Regions from separate parts of the Homo sapiens genome. Here regions 2 and 3 are each linked to region 1. The links are contacts of gene promoters, found by promoter capture Hi-C in blood cells and fetal thymus (Javierre and others, 2016). All regions are on one chromosome and are shown on one strand. The core of a region is centred on a gene start or on the middle of the fragment in contact, and the rest is flanking DNA. Distances in the headings are between cores, read along the strand shown. Region 1 holds the start of NDUFAF4 (NADH:ubiquinone oxidoreductase complex assembly factor 4). Region 2 overlaps FHL5 (four and a half LIM domains 5). Region 3 overlaps FHL5 (four and a half LIM domains 5).

Region 1 (4,457 bases), core at 815-3,314:
CTAGTGTGTTGTCAAGACCCTGGGTTTATTAGTATCTTAAGATATTCAGCCATACACATGCATCATAATACTCCACTCAGATGGAAGCTTCATTCTAAGCAGCATCCTAGTTATACTTTCCTTGGGGATCTGACTTCAATCCTTAACATAAGCCCAACAGGAGTTCTTAAGTTCAGAGTTCCTGTTAATTTATATGTTTTGACAAGAAGAGCTGGAATTATGCATTTATGGTTCAGGTTTTATTTCCATGATTCCCAAAGGGTGACAGCCAATTGTGAGTTTCTGATGGAGTGCATCTGCCTTCTGTTTTGCAATTTGAGGGCCTGAGCAGCACTGGGCCAGGATCAGGCAAAGCAGCTGACACATGCTGGAAGCTCTTTCAATGTTGAATCCAAGCTCTATTGGAATGTGTGAATTCAAATAATTATTTCATATTGTAATCCCTACTGTCCTGACAGTCACTTCTAACATTACTTTTTCATACTGCCCGAAGTTCGGTGGAATTTCTATGAAAATGAGATTTTCACTTTTAAAATATTTTAACAGGCAGTGAGTCGAATTGCTACCATGATTAAAGCACATAGACATAATGAGGCAGATTAAAATTTCTTAGCACCCATAGAAATAGAAATACCGTGCCTAAAAAGCCCTGAATCACAAGCATGCTTAAAAGTATCAAAGATAGAAATCTTGGAGCAGCCTGCCACCTTCAGGATAACTTCCCAGTTAATGCTATCTGAGATCACTGATTTCAGCTTCTATAAATTCCAAATACCAATCCCTGTAAAAATGTTCAGTATAATTAAATAAAGGGCATTTAAATTAGAGTGGCTGAAGCCGTCTTCCTTGCAGTGCTTTTGCTCTGATTAAGCATTATACTTAATGATTACATTAGTTTTCTTTTTAAAAAACTTTCCCTTTCTTCATTTTGGTTCTTTGATTCTTGTTTTATTATTATTATTCTATTCGATTATCTTTACATCAATATTTTCTTACTTTAAGCTGGTTAAAAACATCCACTCTACTTCATTTTGCTAAGCAGAGATCAGAACACTAAAAATAGATTTTGCAGCCACAGTAAGAGAAATACTGTAACTTCCTTCCTACTGCTTCCTTCCTGGTGGGTTTTATTTTAGATTAATAACAATATTTCTAAAGGGTCTTAAATAAAAGCAGCACTACAGTAACCCATTCAGGAAATGGAGAGAGACGGAGAAGGTGAATGTAACACTCGTTTTTTTGTTTGTTTGTTTTTTTTTTCTGACGTCTTATTGTCTGTTCCTTTCATTAAATTACACAGAGGCTTAAAAAGAATGAAGAAGGCAAGAGAGAAGAGAAATAGGAGAGGGAATGACTCAGCATTTAGTAGCATGGAGAAGTAAATTAGTAGCAAAAATAAGATAAGGGAAAGTATAACTAAAATCGATACCATTAGGTCAAATGAGAACGGGATGTAAAAAATAATGGAAAAAGAATACAGTGGCTTGAAAATGCATCAGGCGGGGGGACAGGAAAATAAGAGGCATTTAAATGAGAGCGGCTGAGAACAAATACTCATCGAAAGGGAACATCCTTTCATTATTTTCCTTTCACAAAAGCAGGAAAGGGCAACTTGAGAGCCCAGTTTGACCCTGGTTCAGTAAGTTCCATTTTTATCGGCTAACTCTTTGGTGGCATTGCCCTGTGAAACAACTTCAAGGTCAACTTCCTTACGACTTTGATTTTCAGCTCTTCACTGAAACTTTGGAATCACGTGGAGTCTTATCCAATGCTGGGCCTCACTCCACAAGAATTAAATCAGAAAGTCTGGGGTAGGGCCCGGCACAGAACTTTACAGAGCTTCCCGGGTGACTCCCTCGGAGTTCCAGCGTTAAAAGCAACCGTGGGTCTGGGGACTTAAGCCCCGCCACCTCCCGCCGGAAGCGGCCCTCGTGGGAGCCGTCACTCGCCCCGAAGGGAGGGGCTCCCTTTTAAATGCCCTGGGCAGAGAAGCGGTGTGTGGCCTCCCGAGCGCTAGGGGGCGACGGGCACGCATTTAAGCGCCCGCGGCGGGGCTTCCCCTCACTTGTGCGCATGCTCCGGGTGTCCCGGAGTTGTCCTGCGCCGGTGTTCCCACGTGCGGCCTGAACCTGAGCGCATAATGTTATGAGGAGATGGGAGCACTAGTGATTCGCGGTATCAGGAATTTCAACCTAGAGAACCGAGCGGAACGGGAAATCAGCAAGATGAAGCCCTCTGTCGCTCCCAGACACCCCTCTACCAACAGCCTCCTGCGAGAGCAGATTAGTCGTGAGTGGTGCGAGGGCGTTTCGGGGCCCGGGGGCGCGGAGTCCCTGTGCTGCCCGGCTGTCCCTAGCGTGGGTCCGGAGGCCGAGGGATCGGCGTCAGCCTGCTCGGCCGCAGCCGCTCGGGTTGGCGGAGCGTTGGAAGGGGGAGCCGCCAGGCCGGTGACATTGAGACTGTCCTCCGCGCCCGCGGTGAGGTCGGCGGCCCCGCCTACTTCCGAGACCCAGAGGCAGCAGCCAGTGCTCCCGCTAACCAGGCCCTCGCCGGCTGCTGTCACGGACTTGATACAGGGAATCAAAATCCGAGAGGGTCACAGAGCTTTCTCTAGGGGTCTTCACTGGACGATGGACGCAGAGCCTGACCTGGAATTTTGATTTCCATCTAAAGTATTTTCCTAACAGTCCAAATGATTATGTTTATTTTTTAAAAAAATTAAAGTGGTTAGGCCGGGCGCGGTAGCTCAAGCCTGTAATCTCAGCACTTTGGGAGGCCGAGGCGGGCAGATCACCTGAGGTCAGGAGTTCGAGACCAGCCTGGCCAACATGGCTAAACCCCGTCTCTACAAACAATGCAAAAATTAGCCGGGCGTGGTGGCGCGCCTGTAGCCTCAGCTTGTCGGGAGGCTGAGGTGGGAGAATCTCTCGAACCCGGGAGGCGGAGGTTGCAGGGAGCCGAGATCGCGCGACTGCACTCCAGTCTGGGCAACAGAGCGAGACTCCGACTCAAAAAAGAAAATAAAAGAAAGCGTTTGTGTTAAGCGTTTAGGATATTACAGGAAATTTTCCTTGATTTTAATATTGTGACTTTTTTCCTTTCCTTAGTCTATCCAGAAGTTAAAGGAGAGATTGCTCGTAAAGATGAAAAGCTGCTGTCGTTTCTAAAAGATGTGTATGTTGATTCCAAAGATCCTGTGTCTTCCTTGCAGGTAAATGTGTGTTTAATTAAGTGAATACACAATTTACTTATTTTGGGGCTTCAGGAAAATGATTAAGTGTGGCAAGTAGTAAAAAGAGTGCTCTGCAAGTGTGTGTTGTGATCAATCTACACGCCTTGGCAAAGTTTAAGCACACTGGTGTAAGACAGCAAGACACTTATGCCTTGGTTCACTGGATATTTACCAGAATTCTAAAATAACTTGTGGAAGTATTGATACAAGCAACTGTGTGAATTATTTCATAGTATTTCAGAATTTGTAGGATTTGGTAAGGCATTACTTCCAGTGGTTGTCATTTGAGTGACAAAAGCAGAGCTTTAATATTATTTTCTCATTCTTCTGTGGATTGAGGTATGTTCTAATCTCAGAGACTCCTTTAGTAAGTGGTGTTGTTGGATTTTGTGGGGTGTTCCTGTTTGTTTTTTTAAGGATGTATTCAGATAGGATATTTAAAATTAGAAGGATCAAAGAATACATTAGGAATGGGAACCTATGTGTAAATCCATATTCTGTATTATGTAAGTCCTGGGCACAAGTGCTTTGTATATAGTGATGAACAAAACTAGTCCTTATTTTCACAGGGCCTATGATGTTGTGAAGGACACAGCCATTAAACAAATGAGCAACAATGTGACCATAATTATGGGAAAAGTACGTGCACTGCTGAGTATATTGGAGGGACCTCTTTGAAATGGGAGGATCAAGGATGGTTTCTGAGGAAGTGATAGTTATGTTCAGGCCTGAGGAGGGATCAGTTGGAGTTAACCAGATGAGTTTTTGGGGGCAGGAAGATTCTAGTTAGGGGTAAAGTTTGATTAAAGGCCAAGGAAGTGCCAACAACTTCCAGATTTTTTTTTTCATTCTAAAATATTCTGGTACTGTCCCTCTCTCTCTGGATATTTGCACAGATAGAATTATTAATATAATTTTCACTACAGAGGAGAAATAAAACAAGATTTGTTAATCGCTGCACATAGTAATTGTAGGGTTCAGTTATCACCACATGCTCACATGAAAAAAGTATAGGGTTAATGTCTGTGTTCTTACGTCATTTTAAAATAGGTGTTGAGTAATACTCCCCAAGTATTCTTTCTCTCATGTTACTTAATTATGCATCTGAAAATTCACTCTTGGGAGCAAAAAAAAATTAATGCTTTGTATGTATAAGACTCAGTTATACATATAATGCGTAAAGAGATACGTATATAGTGATATTAAAATTTCATGGGGACATTAG
Region 2 (4,457 bases), core at 588-3,087, 310 kb after region 1:
ATATTTATTGGATCCTTTTCCAGTTCTTTCATTTTTCTGCTGAAATCATTTATACATTCACTCATTCTGTTCATTTCCTTCCAAATATTTAACATAAGTATAATAAAGTCCCTGTGGGGGCTTATGTTTAAAAATATTTGTAATAGAGAATTCAATGGATAAGATTATCAGCAGACTGAAAAAAGCAAAAGTAAAAATCAGCAACCTTGAAATGAAACAAACTAATGCATAAAGAGAAAATTCACTAAATGAAGATAATAGAAATAATTTTTCCCCAAAATAAAATTGTTGAAAGACTTCCAGTCCAATAATGGTACTCTGTATAATTCAAACCATGAGGCTGCTGTGAACCACTAGAGAAGCTAGTACTTAAAAAGTGTACTTAAAAAGTGTAGCTTGGAGGCATCAGAGAATTAATATTACAGTGAAGAATAGGCAAAGTCCAAAGGAAGGAGAAAAGCGTAGATGAGCTTGGTATTTGCTTTCCACAGAAGAATATGTACATCCAAAAAGATAAAATGAATAGTCTGAGAAGCTGTATGGCACTTCTGACAGCCTAGAAAGGCTAAGGGGACAAAGATTGAGGTCAATGGACCTTCCATGTAGCAGGCCTGGTAAGCTTATCATTGTGTAGGTGATATTTCCAAAGAGCTATGCCCTTGGAGTAACGTAAATTAGAAGTAAACTAGTATTTCAGAGATGGAAGCCCAGCTTTGAATTACCTCAGTTTCTAAAATTATATTAAGATAACCTTGGAATTCTGGTATCCCTAGGTGAACACCAGAATAAATACACATCCTGTCTGAAGGAAGAAAACATCATCTTAGGCCTCAATTACTTCTACACCAATGTCTAGCACTAAACAAAAATGACCATGTTCAGAAGAAGACAAGGGAATATAAAGAATAGAAACATACATGCAGGAAGCCATAGATTTTGGAGTTATAAGACAGAACATAAAACTATCCTTAATATGTTCAAGGGGGTAAATAAAATAAGGAGCAAAAATTTTGCAGAGAATTAAAAACAATGAAAAAGAATGAAATGTAAATTATAGTACAGAAATATACAATGATTTAAATTAGGGACATAATGGGAAATTTTAGAAAAGATTGTATGAAATGAAAAAGATGATAAAATAGAAAATAAAATTAAGCATGATGATAAAAGGTATAAAAAGTACAATTAAGAAAGTAAGAAACATAGATGATAGAATGAGAATGAGAAAAGAGAAAAATATACAAGTTGTATTTGAAGAAACAATGGCCCATCTTCCAAAACTGACAAAATACATGCCCCAAATTTTAAAAACCAAGAAAACATGAACCTCAACTGACCTGAAAAACACACTTGGACACATCAGGGTACAACTACTAAAAACGAAAGACAAATAACATATCAAAAGTAGATTATAAAATGTTGCGGGAAGTCAGGGACCCTGAACGGAGGGACTGGCTGAAGCCATGGTGGAAGAACATAAATTGTGAAGATTTCATGGACATTTATTAGATCCCCAAATTAATACTTTTATAATTTCTTATGCCTGTCTTTACTGCAATCTCTAAACATAAATTGTGAAGATTTCTTGGACACTTACCACTTCCCCAGTCAATACCCCTGTGATTTCCTATGCCTGTTTTCACTTTAATCTCTTAATCCTGTCATCTCGTAAGCTGAGGAGGATGTATGTTGCCTCAGGACCCTGTGATGATTGCATTAACTGCACAAATTGTAGAGCATGTGTGTTTGAACAATATGAAATCTGGGCACCTTGAAATAAGAACAGGATAACAGCAATGTTCAAGGGAATAAGAGAGATAACCTTAAACTCTGACCGCCAGTGAGCTGGGCGGAACAGAGCCGTATTTCTCTTCTTTCAAAAGCAAATGGGAGAAGTATCACTGAATTCTTTTTCTCAGCAAGGAACATCCCTGAGAAAGAGAATGTGCCCCTGAGGGTGGGCCTCTACAATGGCCCCCTTGGGTGTGGCCATCTTCTATGGTCAAGACTGTAGGGATGAAATAAGCCCCAGTCTCCCATAGTGCTCCCAGGCTTATTAGGACGAGAAAATTCCCACCTAATAAATTTTGGTCAGACAGGTTGCTCTCAAACCCTGTCTCCTGATAAGATGTTATCAATGACAGTGGTGCCCGAAACTTCATTAGCAATTTTAATTTTGCCCCGGTCCTATGGTCCTGTGATCTCGCCCTGCCTCCATTTGCCTTGTGATATTCTATTATCTTGTGAAGTACCTGATCTCTGTGACCCACACCCTATTCGTACACTCCCTCCCCATTGAAAATCCCTAATAAAAACTTGCTGGTTTTACAGCTCAGGGGACATCACGGAACCTATCGACATGTGATGTGTCCCCCAGATGCCCAGCTTTAAAATTTCTCTCTTTTGTTCTCTGTCCCTTTATTTCTCAAACTGGCTGACACTTAGGGAAAATAGAAAAGCACCTACATGAAATATCGGGGGTGAATTTCCCCCCGATATCTGGCTGAATTTCCCCTGATAATAAAATATTACTTTCAGATTAATAACAAATTGAGGATACCTACTTCTCAACAGAAAAAAAAGGAAGCTAGACAATGGAGAGATATATTCAAATTGCTGAAAAAAATTAGCAGCCAACCTAGAAGTCTATGCCCAGGTAAAAGATCTTTTGACAATGAAGGTAAAAGCATTTTCAGGCCATCAGAAACTAAATTTATTAATCATCCACCCACGTTAAAATAATACCAAACAGTGTTCTTTGGGCAAAAGTACACATTGGAGATCACAGGTGCGGAAAAGAGTAGGGAAAAAATGAAAACCGTAAACATGTAGATGAATCTATGTAAATCTGACTATGTACAACAACCCTGTGTCAAAGAATTAGAAAATTTAGGTAAAATGGAAAAATCTAAAATAAATAAAACTATTAAAATTGACACAAGAAGAAATAAAAAATTATGACAACTATTAGATAAGTTGAATTTGTAATTAAAAAGGCTACATACAGAGGGAAATAAAGCCAAAGTGGCTTTACCAGTGAATTTTGCCAAGCTTTAAAGAAGAAATAACAGCAATCTCACACAAACCAAATCAAGTAAGTACAAACAGAGAACATGCTCTGGTAAATTTTGAACTCATTAACACTTTGGTATCAAAATCTAAAATCATTATGAGAAAGGAAAACTATAGGTCCATAATACTTCTGACAATAAATACAAAACCCAAACCCAAATAACAAGCAACTAAATCCAGTGATATATGAAGAGATTAGTATATCATGATCAAGTTGATTTCATTTTAGGAATGCCAAGTTCAGTTTAAAATTCAAGAGAATCACTGTGTTTCAATAATTTTACCAAGTAAAAGTGAAAGCTGTAAAATTACCTCAGCAGCTGCAGAAAAGGCATTTGATAAAATCTTACTTCAATTTATGATTAAAAACTCTTAACAAACTAAAAATGAAAGAAACTTCTTCAATGTGGTTTAAAAAAACCTATAGCGAACACTATACTTAATGGTAAATGTTGATAGCTTTTACTCGGATTATAAATAGGAAAAGAATACCCACAATCACCACTTCTATTCAGCTTTATACTGGAAGCCATAGATTTTGCAGTAAGGTGAGGGAAAAAAGTACAAGAGTTAAAAGGAAACAAACTCATTATTTGCTGATGTTCTAATTGTGGAGAAAATCAAAAAAATTCTATAATACCTGATTAGAATTTACAAGTTAGTTATTAGAGTTGCTCAGTAAAATGTCTATATATAAAAATCAATTGTATTCCTATTTAACAATAACAAACAGTGAAATGAAAAAAAATCATTTATGATATTTAAATTCCCTGAGAAACCTAATAAGAATGTATGAGCTCTCTACATAGAAAATTATAAGACTTTGAAAGAATAAACAGAAAACCAAAATAAATACATGGAAGGAAAATACCATGCTCTTAGACTTGAAGACTTACTATTGTGAAGGTATTATTTCCCCTTCATTTGCCCTATAGATGCAAAATAAAATTCCATCAGGTTATTTTTTTACAAGCTAATTCCATAACTTATAAAGAAATGCAGAGGGCCAGGAATAGTGTAATCACCTTTGAACAAGAACAAGATTGGAAGACTTGCTAAGTCAGATATCAAGACATTATAAAGCTACTATAGTGGATGGTATGGTATAAACACAGGATTAAATACTTAGATCACCAGAACAGAATAGAGAGCTCAAAAGCAAGTCTATACATATATAACACATGACCTAAAGGACAGTGAGGAATAACGAAGAATAGGAATGGTCTTTTTAGTAAATGGTGTTGGGTCAATTGTATTTATTTCCATATGAAAAAGAATGAAACTAGATTACTACTTCACATGACATATAAAGATTATTTCCAGGTGAACCATAGATCTCAGTGTTAGGACAAAGCAATAATCCTTTGAGAATATAAGAGAATGTC
Region 3 (4,457 bases), core at 1,157-3,656, 290 kb after region 1:
CTGCACTAACCTCTCAGCTCATCCTGTTCTCCTCCTTCCTTGAATGTTAGAGTCAGTACCATTAGGTTTAGTATGTAGTTACCTTCACAGAGTATAGTCACCCAAATTATACTCTTGTACTTTCCTTGAGGAATCCATGTAATATTTATACTCATATATATGCACCCACTTGTGTTTATCTCAAAAGGAAATATAAAGGAAAGCTTCCCATTTTTTAATTGCTTTTCCTAAATTAACTAGATAGTGTTTCATAAAGTCATAACTGTCTCATGGCATGATCATATTGAACTGAAGAACTCACCACTAATGGGTTTGGAACAGGCTACACACTTGTTGGCATAAAGATGGTTGTAGCAGTCCACGCAGAATGGATAGTCGTCTCTGGACATGAACTGTTCTTCACAGAGATCTTTCCTACAGCCACTACACAGAAAACACTCTTTATGCCATAGCTGGTCACAAAATGTTATCCCACCTGAAGTTATCACCTGCCAAAGACCACAGAAAAGGCAATGACCATGGGAGCCATTACAATTCAGATCATTTCATGATTCTTTTGAGATCCTAGTATCTCTGGGGAGAAAAGGAAGCAAAAAGAAAAAAAAAAGATCATTTCATGTCTTCTATGCCACAACTGGTGCTTTTGGCTACTCTATTTTCACCTTATGTTAGGATGTTCTTTTCCTCAAAAAGTCATTAAAAATTAATAATATGAGAAGCCAAAGGCTATAGGAATTAATTAGAAGTAGAAAGAAATGGAAATTATTGTATATTTTTCTCCTACAATGAAATAGAACAGAGGCAGGGCCATATTGGACTCAGGAAGATGGGGGAGAAAAACCACACAGGTTCTTTTTTCACTTCCTCATACTTCTCTGAATTTTCTTAATTTTGGTTTTTAAAGATCTGCCGTTAGAGCTATTTTCTATACTATGTTCTTATAACTACCTGTCTAACTTTAGGGATGCTTAAAAGAATTCTTCTTTTTCCTGAATGCTTTACACCAGGTCCAAGAATATCCAACAGCAGTAATTCTGAATGGAATTGGTAAGCACCATTATTTGCTAATAACAACTACCATTTCTTAAGTGTTTTTTCAGTCCTTACCACCGTGCTAAGGATGATCTCTTCTGAATATTCTCAACACCTCTACATACTACAGACTATTATCTTTCCCTCTTTTCAGATGAGCAACTAGTGAGGGTTACAGTCATTAAGTTACTTGCCATGGCCATAGTGAGCTAGGATTCAAACCTGCATGGTCTGATTCCACAGCCTGTGTGCATCACCATCAGTGCCATACTGAGTCAAGGTTACCTTACACAGATAAGCAGTTGAAAATCCTTGTTGAATGAATGAATAAATGCCAAAGGAAAAAATAGTTGGAAAGCAATTCCAATATTGTATCTAGCAGTGGGGTGCTGTGGGAATTAGAACTCAATGGAATAAGCCCTGGTTGTACATTGAGCCTTAAGGTGTGATGTGCAGTGTTTTGCCTGAGATGTAATTAGTTCTGCATAAGATAATATTTTCTTTCTAAACCAATTTAATCCATGAATTCTACTTTTTAAAAGGCTGAGAAATCTTTAGTTAGAATCAGATGGATAAATCTTGGGCATTTTTTCTCATGTAACTATTTTTAAGCCACATCACCTTTTGAATTCACAGCTAATGAGCTCTTAGAATTGCTGTAGATACTGGAATGTGTTTTTGTAAGTGTTTTATAATGACTGAAGCAATGGGGTATCTGAGGTGGTTCCTATAACCTTTGTATCAAATTAACTAGGTAGTAAAAACTTAGAGCCTATTTTAAGCCGCCTCGTTGTTTACGAACTCAAAAATGTTATTTGTCTGTTACATAGACTTGTGAAAAAATTATTCTAAAGGTATTTTTAATCTTATAACAAATATCTTAGAAATTAAAGATATTTGATATGAAAGATATTTTCCTAGAGGGAAAAAAGCATACTATTCTGAATAAGTAAATGGGAAGCATAATGTTGTGATGGAAGTAAAGCAATTTAAAATACCTCCTACTGACTTCCAATGCCTTACAGCAGACACAGCAGAATTCATGATTCCTTTGATTTGTTTGGTCTGATGATTAGCAGGCAATGCTTAAAAGATCTGAAACTTGAAAAATGTATTCACAGCAAAATAAAACTTGATATATACACCAAAGACTGTTTAATTAGAGAGAAGAAATTCTGGAACATCAAAAATAGTTTGCTTGTGATTATATTCCTTTTGAAGAGGTAGGAAGGTAAGATAAAGTCTAATATCTAAGCTTGGTTTTCACCACTGATTGATCTCAGGATTTAGAACAAGTTTGTTCTGTGAAAAAGTGGGGGCAATAATGATTTTGCACTCATTATGTGACAGATGAAAAATCGAAGAAGACGTTTAACTCCTTTTGAACCTTGAGGAGTTTGAATTTGAAGCACTTGTAGTTTAAAATCATTTGCTTTCTGGCAGAAAATAAATCTTAGTTTAACAAAATAAAATCTATGGATTTTAAAGCTTAAAAGTTCTAACAGCCTGGTTGTCAAGTAGTTTTTCCTTTTTTTAAGAAAATATTTGGTCTTTGGTTTGGGTTGAAAAAAATTGTTTAGATTGGATCATCTTGATCAAAAACAAATCTAGCTTTTTAGAAAAGGACTTGTGGTTTTAAAAACTAAATAAAAAATAATCTGGCATGTCATAATCTGTCTACTACCCAATATAAATATTTTGTAAATTTTTGATGACTTCAAATCATATCCTAAATATAGTTACAGGCTCCAATAACCTGGGAAACATCAGCACTTGGCCCAGACAGTGCTCAGCATGGATGTACTAAAGAAGTTTCACTCTTGAATTGTTATAGCATTGAAAGAGTCTTCATTATTGTGTCTGATAAATGATTTTAGGATAATTCTCACAAATATCATTACTGTTTTAGTCTGTCTTTAAGAAATGCAGCCTAAAATTGGCCAACTCAGTTGTCTCTCAAAACAGTGAGATAAACCTATTCATTTTATTTCCAGCAAGATTTTATTTTCTTTAGTTTTTAAGTTTTGTATATTTTTTAGAGATAGGATCTCATTGTCACCCAGGCTGGAGTACAGTGGCTCAATCATAGCTCACTGCAGCCTTGAATTTCTGGGCCCAAGTGATCCTCCTGCCTCAGCCACCCAAGTAGCTGGGACTACAGGCACGTGTCACCATACTTGGCTAATTTTTAAACTTTTTTTTTTTTTTATACAGACAGGGTGTCACTATGTTGCCCAGGCTGGTCTTGAACTCCTGGCCTCAGGCAATCTTCCCACCTTGGCTTTCCAAAGTGTTGGGATTACAGACGTGAGCCACCATGCCCAGCTCCAGCATGTTTTTAAATGCCGTCATTGACCCTGGTAATTCTTTGGAGCTTCATATGTCATATGGCTTGATTGCTGCTTGTAAAGTCACCTTCTAAGCCAGTGTTTTGGTAGAGTAATGAAGGTCTCAGTCATAAGATTATTTTATGTCATGTGATCAATTGTAATTCTCAGCCATCAACATAGTGTAATTTAATAATGATAACTTAGCATAGTGTATTGCTGCCTCTTTAAATGCAGTAGTGGTATTGGTTATGTATGTTAAACAGTTAACTGCGTGTGTGTGTGTGTGTGTGTATGTGCATGTGTGTTCACATATGTGTGCATAGAAAGTGGTAGTGTGACTTCCAGCTGTCCAGATATACAAATGGGCTTAAGAGTTCTGCCAAAGTAACCCACAGATAAAAAATACTTTGAAACCACTATACTAATCCAATGTATTTTCATGATTCAGCTTTCTCATGACAATTTATGGTGTCATTTTAAACTTATGATGCCTCGCAGGTCAAGGATTTCTTTGAGAACCTCCATATATATTTTATGGAATGCAGACAGGCTTCATCAAGGTGTTAGAGCTACTTTTTCACATAAAAGCTTAGAGGATAAAAAAAGAATTGGATGAAGTTTACTTCAAAAATATTACTTTTTTTTTCTCTTAGAAAATGTTTTTTTTGAGTGGGAAGCCAAGTCAGAAGGCCCTACATGATCCTGGAACTGGAGTGAAGGAACTTGCTGCTCTTAGTCTTCTTTCTGTCTTTTGTCTACTGAACTTCCCCCATGATCTTGGCACTCTCTTGAGCCGATTGCCCTACTCATAGGAAATACAAAAGCTTCAAGTCAAGAAGACATTTGCATTGCTGAGAAAGAATGTGAGAAGTTAAACATCCTGTTTAACTTGGTTCCCTTAGTCACTTTGTGAGGCAAATCCATATTTCTCTGAAACAGTTAATACTGAATAGATCAAACATTATTTTTTAAGAAACATCTGTATTCAAAGAGAGACCTGTGCTTTCTCCCAGAATACGTGAGATCTTGTATAAAAGCAGTGAATGGGCCGAGTGTGGTGGCTCATGCCTGTAATCCCAGTACTTTGGAAGGCCA

The links. Contacts are between HindIII fragments. The CHiCAGO score rates a contact against its expected background, and 5 or more counts as called.
Region 2: a fragment that was not itself captured here is called in contact with the fragment with the promoter of NDUFAF4 in region 1 in 1 of 17 cell types (total B cells); the score reaches 5.6 in total B cells.
Region 3: a contact is called between a fragment that was not itself captured here and the fragment with the promoter of NDUFAF4 in region 1, in 4 of 17 cell types (total B cells, naive B cells, naive CD4 T cells and 1 more). The highest score is 10.4, in total B cells.

What each region holds. Positions count from the first base shown.
Region 1 is chr6:96,895,498-96,899,954 of GRCh38, reverse strand. NDUFAF4 (NADH:ubiquinone oxidoreductase complex assembly factor 4) reads left to right here and starts at 2,064. Exons shown (of 3, transcript NM_014165.4): 1 at 2,064-2,289; 2 at 3,108-3,211. The coding sequence starts at 2,154. It also overlaps a transcript of KLHL32 not described here. RefSeq lists an enhancer at 2,142-2,241. The HindIII fragment of the contact is 8,617 bases long and covers 90-4,457 here.
Region 2 is chr6:96,589,764-96,594,220 of GRCh38, reverse strand. The region is part of intron 1 of FHL5 (four and a half LIM domains 5); the gene reads right to left. Among named protein-coding and RNA genes, the nearest start is that of FHL5, 29 kb to the right of the region's middle. The HindIII fragment of the contact is 2,432 bases long and covers 622-3,053 here.
Region 3 is chr6:96,606,603-96,611,059 of GRCh38, reverse strand. It overlaps FHL5 (four and a half LIM domains 5), which reads right to left. Exons shown (of 6, transcript NM_001322466.2): 5 at 302-488. Among named protein-coding and RNA genes, the nearest start is that of FHL5, 46 kb to the right of the region's middle. The HindIII fragment of the contact is 233 bases long and covers 2,290-2,522 here.